Regions from separate parts of the Homo sapiens genome. Here all the other regions are linked to region 2. The links are contacts of gene promoters, found by promoter capture Hi-C in human tissues and cell types (Jung and others, 2019). All regions are on one chromosome and are shown on one strand. Each heading gives the region's core, a stretch centred on a gene start or on the middle of the fragment in contact. The rest is flanking DNA. Distances are from core to core; before and after follow the strand shown.

Region 1 (3,274 bases), core at 418-2,917, 180 kb before region 2:
AAATGTTGCCAAAGTGAAAAGTGGGAGACTGATTTCCTCCTTCCGATTGATTGGAGAGCCATTCACTTTAGGGTGCTTCTGTTTCCTTACTCATCACACAGAGCACTGGAGTGTGGGAAAAATCCCCATCCCACATTAAGGTTGCCACAAAGGTAAAAAAGACCTGAAGCAGAAGTTGGGAGACCTGAGCTTATGACCTTGGACTTACAGCACAGCTGATATTTGGGGGAATAAGGTTTGTTGTTGTTTTTGTGTGTGTGTTTTGTTTGTTTGAGACGGAGTCTCACTCTGTCGCACAGGCTAGAGTGCAGTGGCGAGATCTCAGCTCACTGCAACATCCACCTCCCAGGTTCAAGCAATTCTCCCGCCTCAGCCTCCCTAGTAGCTGGGACTACAGGCACATACCATCACGCCCAGCTAATTTTTGTATTTTTAGTACAGACGAGGTTTCACCATGTTGGCCAGAGTGGTCTTGAACTCCTGACCTCAAGTGATCCGCCCGTCTCGGCCTCCCAAAGTGCTGGGATTACAGGGGTGAGCCACAGTGCCCAGCCCCTGGGGGAATAAGTTCTGAGAGGACACAGGAAAACTGGGGATTGAAAAGCAGGTTTTCACAAGAGTGGAGGCAGCTGGCTCTGTGGGTTCCCAGACTAAGGGGATCTGTGCTTGACAGACCAGAGGCCAGTTCTGTGACCATCATCTCAGCCTTGAATTTTTTTTTTTTTTTTTTTGAGACAAAGTCTCACTCTGTCGCCCATGCTGGAGTGTAGTGGTGTGAACTCAGGTCACTCCAACCTCTGCCTCCTGGGTTCAAGCGATTCTTGTGCCTCAGCCTCCCGAGTAGCTGGGACTACAGGCGCCCACCACCACCACGCCCGGCTAAGTTTTCTATTTTTAGTAGAGATGGAGTTTCGCCACGTTGGCCAGGCTGGTCTGGAACTCCTGACCTCAAGTGATCCACCAGCCTCGGCCTCCCAAAGTGCTGGCATTACAGGCGTGAGCCACTGCACCCGGCCTAGCCTTGTGATATTAACAGTAACTGTCATTTGCGGTGTGCCTACTCTGTGTCACACTCCTTGCAGTTATTCCATTTAGGGTAGAGCAACATTATTCTAGTTTACAGATGAGAAAACTAAGGCCCCAGAGATTGATTTGCCCAAGCAGCCAGCTGGCAGTGGAAGTGCCAGTTTCTTCGTGTGTAAAACAAGAGAAGGCAATCTACTGCCTACTGGCTTGTCAAGGGTCACTTGAGATCGGACGACAGGAACCACAAAGAAGTGAGGCCGGGAATTTGCGGATCCACAGTAAAGCAAGTTTGTCTTTTTCCAGACGTGCATTAAGATTCCTTTTTCAAGTGTTCTAAAGCGCAGGCGCAGGCTGTTTTGCGGTTGCCTCCCGGCGCCTCTTGTGCAGGCCGGGGTCGCCCTCTGCCGACCCAGGGCGGGAGCGCGCTGAGTGAACGTTTCCAGGCCTGAGGGCGGGCGGAGATTTTTCTCGCCTGTAGAGGGCGCAGATCGGCGTGCAGAGTAACCCACTCTAGTTGTCCCTTCCTTAAGCACTTCCTGTTTGATCTCTATGATCCATCCTGTTGGGACTTGATTCGTTCCTCAAATTTTCAATTTACCGTAAACAAAGGGGACGCGCGCTGACCCGGAAGTGAAAGCTGGAACCCGGCCGGAGTAGCTCTGAGCGCCGGCTGTGAGGAAGGAGGTTCTGGGCAAGCTATAGCCATGGCTGTGGCTGTAGCCATGGCGGGAGCCTTAATCGGGTCGGAGCCAGGCCCCGCGGAAGAACTTGCCAAACTCGAGTACCTGTCTTTGGTGTCAAAGGTTTGCACTGAGCTGGACAATCACTTGGGGATCAACGACAAGGACCTTGGTGAGCTCGGGGAGGTCCCTGGGACCTCAGTTTGGGATTGAGGGAAGCGGAAGGAGGAAGGAGGAAGGAGAAAGGTGGTTGATGGACCGAAAGTATGTTCGTGTGAATCTGTCTCTCTCTGTCGCAGACACCGGTGCCCAGGGTACACGCTGCCGTGGCCTCGGCTTGAGAGCCCTCGAGAAACTTTAGAAACTTTCCCAGAGCTGTCAGTGAAGCCCGGGGCGGTCATCTCTGCTTGATTGTTTTTTGTTTGTTTTTTCAGCCTCAATTAAACATGTTTAACAACAACAGCAGCAGATGCTGCGATGACGACGATGATGGCTGACGTTTATTGGGTGCTCACTATGTGCTAGATGCGATGCTCAGCTCTTTATTGACATTATTTTATTTGGTCTTCACGCCACTCTGTGACATAGTAGTTAGCGTCTGTGCTTTTAACTGTGTTCTTTGACCGTTCATCCTGTACTCTTTTTTGAGGCAGGGCCTCGCTCTGTTTCCCGGGCTGGAGTGCAGTGGCACGATCTCGGCTCACTGCAGCCTCCACCTCCTGGGCTCAAGCAGTCCTCCCACCTCAGCCTCCCGAGTAGCTGGGACTACAGGCGGGCGCCACCAAGCTCGACTCATTTTTAAATTTTTTGTAGAGACGGGGGTCTCACTGTATTGCCCAGGCTGGTCTCGAACTTCTGGGCTCAAGCAGTCCTCTTCCCTCGGCCTCCCAAAGTGTTGGGATTACAGGCGTGAGCCATTGCGTCCTGTACTATGTCTTAAACACCAGTCACTAGATGTTTTGGGGCAAACTACATCTGGGGAGCCGAAACTGAGGAATTAGAAAAGGCTAGGGTCCTAAAGCTAAAGCCATAGACAGATGGAGCCTTTATGAAGGTACAGAGGATGGATGGGATCAAGGGCAACCAATGGATGGATTGACCTTTGGTACGTACAGCAAGGCTTCTTCAGTTGTAACAGGAGCGAGGACAGAGAATACAGTTGCAGATTCAGATGAGTTTAGAGATTGGTGGTGGGAAGATGAGTGAGAGAGTTCCAGCCCACTCTTCAGTTTCCTAAATGAAGATAAAGTCATCAACCGGAGGGATGGAAGGGAAGGGGCAGGTGACAGGAGGGGTTAGGGAAGTTAGACGAGTGACCTTTGGTAAGATTCATAGTTTCTCTGAAGCTGTTTTTCTCATCTGTGAAGTGGGACGATGTCTTCACAGGGTCACCATATAGCATTTAGGAAGATGCCCTGCAGCCAGTATATTTTAGTTTACTTTTTTCTCTTGCCTCCCAGCCAAGATGTGTCTGTCCTATATAACTTTTCCCGCAGGATTCTTCTCTTTTAGTTGATAATGAGGTGATAATTTCGTCGGTTTTGCTATCTCGTTAATATGTTTCCTTT
Region 2 (3,198 bases), core at 150-2,649:
TTCTCCCATCCCAGCCGCAGGCCTGCTTCTCTGCCTCTAGGCTCCTGGACACATAGGGTCTTGGCTTTGGGTGGCCACCCAGGGTCCCAGCTTCAGTCTTAGCTCTCAGAGCCTTAACCTCAGCTGAACTTCCCTGGTAAGCGAGCCCTGTGGCTCTAGGACCACTTGGGGCTGGCCAAAGCATGGTGGGGAGGAGGATGACTCAATGGCAGCCTGATTCAGGAAAGCCCCTCACCAGCCCTCGCCAGTCTGCACCCAGAGGATCCATTTCACGTGTCCTCCAAATCCTGGCTGATCCTGTTTCATTCTCTTGCTGGACACCCTTTCTGGGGCCCAGGAGTGCTGGGACACAGACATGGTCCCCATCACCAGAGAATCCTAGAACTCTCAGTGGAAGAAACCCCAAAGGTAACTGGTCCAGTCTCCTGCATTTGGATGGACTAGACAGAAATTCATGCTCAGAGCACCTAGGCACAGAGAGGGTGAGTAACTTCCCCAGGGTCACACAGTAAAGGAATGATCAGCTGCTCCTGAGCCACCTACCTGAACTCTCCTTTCTCCGCCTGGATGATTTCTTCTCTGTCTCATTGGCAGTGCTCCCAAGCACCCCGTAGTCATCGCCTGGGCCTCCTGTGGTGTCCACCAGGCCCAGGCTGCTGGTCCCCATTTCCTTGGAACCCCCTGCCGGGCCTGAGTTGGGCCTGCGCCGGGCGTCTGAGACAGGGAAGTGCCAGTTGGGGGACTGTGGGAAAGCGGGGTGCTGCTCAGTGAAGATGTGCTCCTCCTGGGGCAGGCTGTGTGGGGTGGCTGCCAGGCAGGAGGCTGAGAAGTCAGGGTACGCTGCCGTCGCTGTCGCCAGGAAGTCTGGTTTCTGGTGGAAGGAGAACGGGGTGGGCGGGTAGTGGGGTAGCCCTGAGGCCCCATTGCCTTCCGAGTGGGGGTTTCGAAGGCAGCCCCAGACAGGGGCTGGGGGCTGGAGGCTCCTCATGCAGCTGCTGGCCGCGGGATCCATCTGCTGTCCGCTGCACGCCTCGGTCCTTTCAAAGATTTGATTCTTTATACTTTTTATGTTCAAATTTTTAAAAATGCAAAAGAAAAAAAACTAAATAGGAGGGAAAAATGTTCAACAGAAAATTTACCCCAGGAACCAAAAAAAAAAAAAAACCCAAAACTAAAGTCTCTCCTTAAAGTACACACACATGTGGCCAGCTACTCCTATGTGTGTGCACACACCTATGTCGGGCTTGCTCCTGCCCCTCCAATGCACCAGCCTACCTACTGGGATCCCCTGTATGTGTATTTGTCGCCAATGACACTAAACATTTTCACTGTCCCAACCCAGACGCACCAGCTGACGAGGAGTTCGTCCTGGAGCCCAGAGCAAATGCCTGCAGAGGGCTGGACCAGGGCTGCTGGGACACACTTTTAAATCCTGCGGTGGGGAGAGAGTGACAAATTTCTGAAGTGAAATGTGAGAGAGGAGAGGGAGGGGTTAACCCACACACACAAGATCCCCTCCAACCAAAACCCTAGCAGGCAACTATTAATCATCAGAAACCTTATATGCACATCTAATGGGATTTGCAGATGGAGACTTTTAAAGAAACATTGTCTGTATTTTTTTTTTAAGGAAAGAGAGCAGCACACACACACATACACACACACCGTCTTTAATGTGCCTCCTGTAACACTATGAAGTTATTTTTATTGCACTGTTAACAAAATTCCCCAAGTCTTGGATTTAGAAAAAGCCTTAAGTCAGATCCAGAATCCATCAAATGCCAAATTCCAGGGAGTGAAGTGAGGAATAAGAGCAAGAGACAAGCTTGGTGATTGCATTTGATTTAAAGGCCCTTCTACTGCTGCCTGCGAAAAAGGAAGGTGGATTAAAAGAAATCTTTTTTGCAAGTCTCAGCGGCCCACTGTGGTCTGCAGTACAAAGAAAGGCACACTCTAGAAAAAAAGAATTTCTCTCTGCCCAGAGTGACATTCTCACTTTCTCAGTAACTTAAAAAAACAATCAGATTCTTCCTTCCGCTCTTTAACCTCCAACATACATGCCAATTAGCCACACTCTTCTCTAGAGAGGTTTCAAGTCATTTTTCTTCACAGCAATGGCAAGGCTCTTAAATAAGGTCCTTGAAGTTTCTTCGGGTCTCCTCCCACCTGCTCCCTGCCCCCTTCACCTCCACCCACCTGCTTCCCTTTCTCATCCCCCAGAGGCGGAGGCTTCCGAGGAATTTGGGGTAGGGAAATAGGAATCAGGGGCTCCTCATTCCCCAAAGGAGCCTCTTTGGCAAGCAGGCACGTGGGTCTCCGGGCTGGTGCACATCACAGGGCAGCCAGCCCAAGTGCCATCTTGATGCCCAGTCTTCCTCATGGCTGCGCCCTGCTGGTCTCTCAGAGGGTTAATGCAATTTCTTGGAGGACGACATTCCTAACACCCAGGGGCCAGAACTCCTTCCCCACTGGTTATTCCCATGGCCCAGAGCAGCAGGATGGGGGCAGAAACAGGCATGGACCTTAACAGCAGCGTCTCTGCTGGCTGCTTCCAAAGACGGCGAGGGTTCCCTGAGGAGGGGCCCCTAGGTCTTAGCTCTGCAGCCTGGAGGTGGGGCCCTGGGGGGTGGGTGCAGGAGATGCTCCTAGGAGGAGCCGAAGGGCACCCAGGGATGTGGAATGAAGCCACGACTGGCCTTTAATCCAGAAACTCCAGTCAGATACACATCCTGGGAGCAGGAGCAGCTGTAAAAGATGGGGAGGGGTGTACATATGAAAAGATGTGCCCTCTTCTGGAACAAGCGGTCAGAGTGTTGTAGACCAGTAGAGTGGATGGGGTCATAGCTGTCAACCAGACTCATCTTTCTGCTTTGCCCAGGGCTTAGCTGTGGCACACACAATTCTCTGAGCCTCACAACTTTCCTAGGATGGGTAAGTAAGAATTATGTCTCCATTTTGCAGATGACAAAACCGAGGCTCAGATGGATGACTGGGCTGCCCAGACTCACACAGCTAAGAAATGGTGGAATCAGCACTTGGCCTCAGGTGTCCTGCTGTTCAGTTTGGAGCAGGCCAGATGCAGAGGAGGAGGCATGGGGTTTGAGGTTAGACGGGTCTGAGTTCAAGCCCCAGGTCTGCCACTTCCTGGCTGTGTGCCCTGGAACAAGTCACCTTATCTCTCTGAACTTCTTTTTTTTT
Region 3 (3,335 bases), core at 131-2,630, 180 kb after region 2:
TGAACATTGGAATGTTATTATTAAGGAAATTCCAGACTTTATTAATCTTTCACTAGTTTTTCCACTAATATCCTTTCTCTGTTCTGGGATCCAGTCCAAGATAACACATTGCAGTTAGCCTTCAAAGTTTCTGAGAAGATTTGAAATTTACCTATCAGTAAACGTGGGCATTTACTGATTGAGCTCCTGAGGCATTACCAGTCTCCCATTACTGCCCTCCTCCATCATTTTCCCTGTCATTCCCCGAAGTAATTGGTTAACATAAAAAATTTGAAAGGGGCCGGGTGCGGTGGCTCACACCTGTAATCCCAGCACTTTGGGAGACCGAAGCAGGCAGATCATTTGAGGTCAGGAGTTTGAGACCAGCTTGGCCAACATGGTGAAACCCTGTCTCTACTAAAAATACCAGAAAATGAGCTGGGCATGGTGGCACGTGCCTGTAATTCCAGCTACTCAGGAGGCTGAGGCACGAGAATCGCTTGGACCCAGGAGGTGGAGGTTGCAGTGAGCCGAGATCGCGCCTGCTGTCTCAAAAAAAAAAAAAAAAAAAAAAAAAAATTGAAAGGGAGTTTTCAGATTTGTTTGATGGAGAAAGTTGAAAAATCGAGTTTGCAACCAGCTAGGGTAGGGAAGCTGCGAGGAGACTAGAGGATGAATGTATGACGGAAAACAAAAAGCATGGTGGTGGTCTACACTGTGCTACAGCAACTAGCAAACTGCAAGATCTCCGTGGCTAAACACAGAAAAGTCTATCTCTTGCTCATTCCAAGTCCGCCGCACGCTTGGTGGCTGTCCAGGGCAGCTGTCTTCCAAGTGGTAGCTCAGGAATCCAAATCTTCCTGTCTTGTGGCTCATTTGTCTTTGCCGGGGACACGTCTTCCCCACTCCTGATGTTTCCTTCCATGAGCAGAGAACCCCACTGGCACAAAACTCTTAGTCTCTCTCCACGCCTCTCTCTACGCCTCTCCACACCTCTCTCTACGCCTCTCCATGCCTCTCCACGCCTCTCTCCACGCCTCTCCACGCCTCTCTCCACGCCTCTCCACGCCTCTCTCTACGCCTCTCCACGCCTCTCCACGCCTCTCTCCACGCCTCTCCACGCCTCTCCACGCCTCTCCCCGCCTCTCTCCACGCCTCTCCACGCCTCTCTCTACGCCTCTCCACCCCTCTCTCCACGCCTCTCCACGCCTCTCTCCACGCCTCTCCACGCCTCTCTCCACGCCTCTCCACGCCTCTCTCCACGCCTCTCCACGCCTCTCCACGCCTCTCTCCACGCCTCTCCACGCCTCTCTCCACGCCTCTCCCCGCCTCTCTCCACGCCTCTCCACGCCTCTCTCCACGCCTCTCCACGCCTCTCTCCACGCCTCTCTCCACGCCTCTCCACGCCTCTCTCCACGCCTCTCCACGCCTCTCTCCACGCCTCTCCACGCCTCTCTCCACGCCTCTCCACGCCTCTCTCCACGCCTCTCCACGCCTCTCTCTACACCTCTCCACGCCTTTCTCCATGCCTCTGCTGATTTGATTGATGAATGTTGAAGGAGGAACAAGGCGTGTGTAACCCGGCTCTCTTCTTCCTTTTCTCTGGTGAGCTGGCCCACCTGCAAAAAGTGTGTGTTCTAAACTGATACACCACACCTCACCCTGAGTATTACGAGGATGGCCCAGCTCCACTGAGGAAAGAAGGACGCAGTTTTACCTGATTCTGGGGTTCAGCATTAGGTTCTGCCCACTGTCCTGTTTCCAAAACCGTGTTACTATGCCTGCATCAAGCTTATCCACCCGCGGCCCACGGGCTGCATGCAGCCAGGATGGCTTTAAATGAAGCCCCAAACAAACTCGTAAGCTTTCTTAAAACATTATGAGATTATTTTTTTAACTCATCAGCTATCACTGGTGTTACTGTATTTTATGTGTGGTCCAAGACAATTCTTCTTCTTGGCCCAGGGAAGCCAAAAGATGGAACACCCTGACCTACATAAACAATAAACATAACTTACACAAAAGTGCACTTATTTGTTCCACAGTTATTCATCATCTAAGACAGCAGTTCTCAACCCAGGGTATTTTTGCCTCTCAGTGGGATGTTTGACAATGCCTGGAGGCTTTTTTTTTTTTTTTTTTTTTGAGACAGAGTCTTGCTCTGTCACCCAGGCTGGAGTGCAGTGGCGTGATCTCAGCTGACTGCAAGCTCCACCTCCCGGGTTCACGCCATTCTCCTGCCTCAGCCTCCCGAGTAGCTGGGACTACAGGTGCCCGCCACCATGCCCAGCTAATTTTTTTGTATTTTATTTTTTTAGAGACGGGGTTTCACCGTGTTAGCCAGGATGGTCTCGATCTCCTGACCTTGTGATCCGCCCACCCCGGCCTCCCAAAGTGCTGGGATTACAGGCGTGAGCCACTGCGCCCGGCCTTTTTTTTTTTTTTTTTTTTTTTGAGACAAGGTCTCACTCCCATCACCCAGGCTGGCGTGCAGTGATGGGATCTCGACTCACTACAGCCTCGACCTCCCATGCTCAGGTGATTCTGTCACCTCAGCCTGTGTGTAGCTGGGACCACAGGTGCACACTGCCATGCTTGGCTAATTTTCTGTATTTTTTGCAGAGACGGGGTTTTGTCATGTTGCCCAGGCTGGTCTCAAACTCCTGGGCTCAAGTGATCCACTCACCTTGGCCTCCCAAAGTGCTGGGATTATAAGCATGAGCCACCTCACCCAGCCTGGAGACATTTTTGATTATCACAACTGGGAAGGGACTACTGGCATCTAGGGGGTACAGCTGGAGATGCTGCTAAACATCCTATAATTCACAGGACAGTCTCCCACAACAAAGAATTATCTAACTTAAAATGTCAACAGTACTGAGGTTGGGGAAACCTTGATCTAAGAGGAGCAAGTGACCCTCTTGGAGCAGCTGAAGTGATTTAGTCCAAGTCCAAACCGAGAGGAATTGGACCAGGGTGGCCATCGAAGACCAAGCAGCTCAGTCCCCTCATCCCTGCCACTGTACCTCTTGGGCACACAGAGGCCTTCCTGAGGATGTGATGAGGCTGTCACGAGCCCAGTGACCTGTCCAGGAGCCCTTGTGCCTCATTGCCTCTCCCAGGTGCAGTGATGGTGGGGCACCTCCCCATGCTTCTGGTGGGAAGCAGGACAAAAATATCCTCTCTTCTCAGATCCCCAGCCCACCACGGAGGTCTGTCTGTTGGCCCCATCTACCCCAGAGTGTGGCCTAAGGTGGAACTAGGTGCGAGGCTCATGCCAGCACCTCACTTTCACCCTTCTCCCCAGCCCTTGCTCCACTTCCCAGTCTGGTGAATCTGTTTCTAATGGAGTTCTT

The links. Contacts are between HindIII fragments. The study calls those that stand out against the background at their distance.
Region 1: the fragment with the promoter of DHX8 here is called in contact with the fragment with the promoter of MEOX1 in region 2 in 1 of the 25 tissues and cell types used here (IMR-90 fibroblasts).
Region 3: a fragment that was not itself captured here is called in contact with the fragment with the promoter of MEOX1 in region 2 in 1 of the 25 tissues and cell types used here (psoas muscle).

What each region holds. Positions count from the first base shown.
Region 1 is chr17:43,482,308-43,485,581 of GRCh38, forward strand. DHX8 (DEAH-box helicase 8) reads left to right here and starts at 1,668. Exons shown (of 23, transcript NM_004941.3): 1 at 1,668-1,878. The coding sequence starts at 1,731. RefSeq lists enhancers at 1,361-2,203, 1,503-1,932. The HindIII fragment of the contact is 21,666 bases long and covers 1-3,274 here.
Region 2 is chr17:43,660,523-43,663,720 of GRCh38, forward strand. MEOX1 (mesenchyme homeobox 1) reads right to left here and starts at 1,400. Exons shown (of 3, transcript NM_004527.4): 1 at 544-1,400. The coding sequence starts at 1,012. RefSeq lists an enhancer at 153-694. The HindIII fragment of the contact is 25,285 bases long and covers 1-3,198 here.
Region 3 is chr17:43,841,362-43,844,696 of GRCh38, forward strand. The region is part of intron 2 of LOC107984979 (a long non-coding RNA gene); the gene reads left to right. Among named protein-coding and RNA genes, the nearest start is that of CD300LG, 4.1 kb to the right of the region's middle. The HindIII fragment of the contact is 4,230 bases long and covers 1-3,335 here.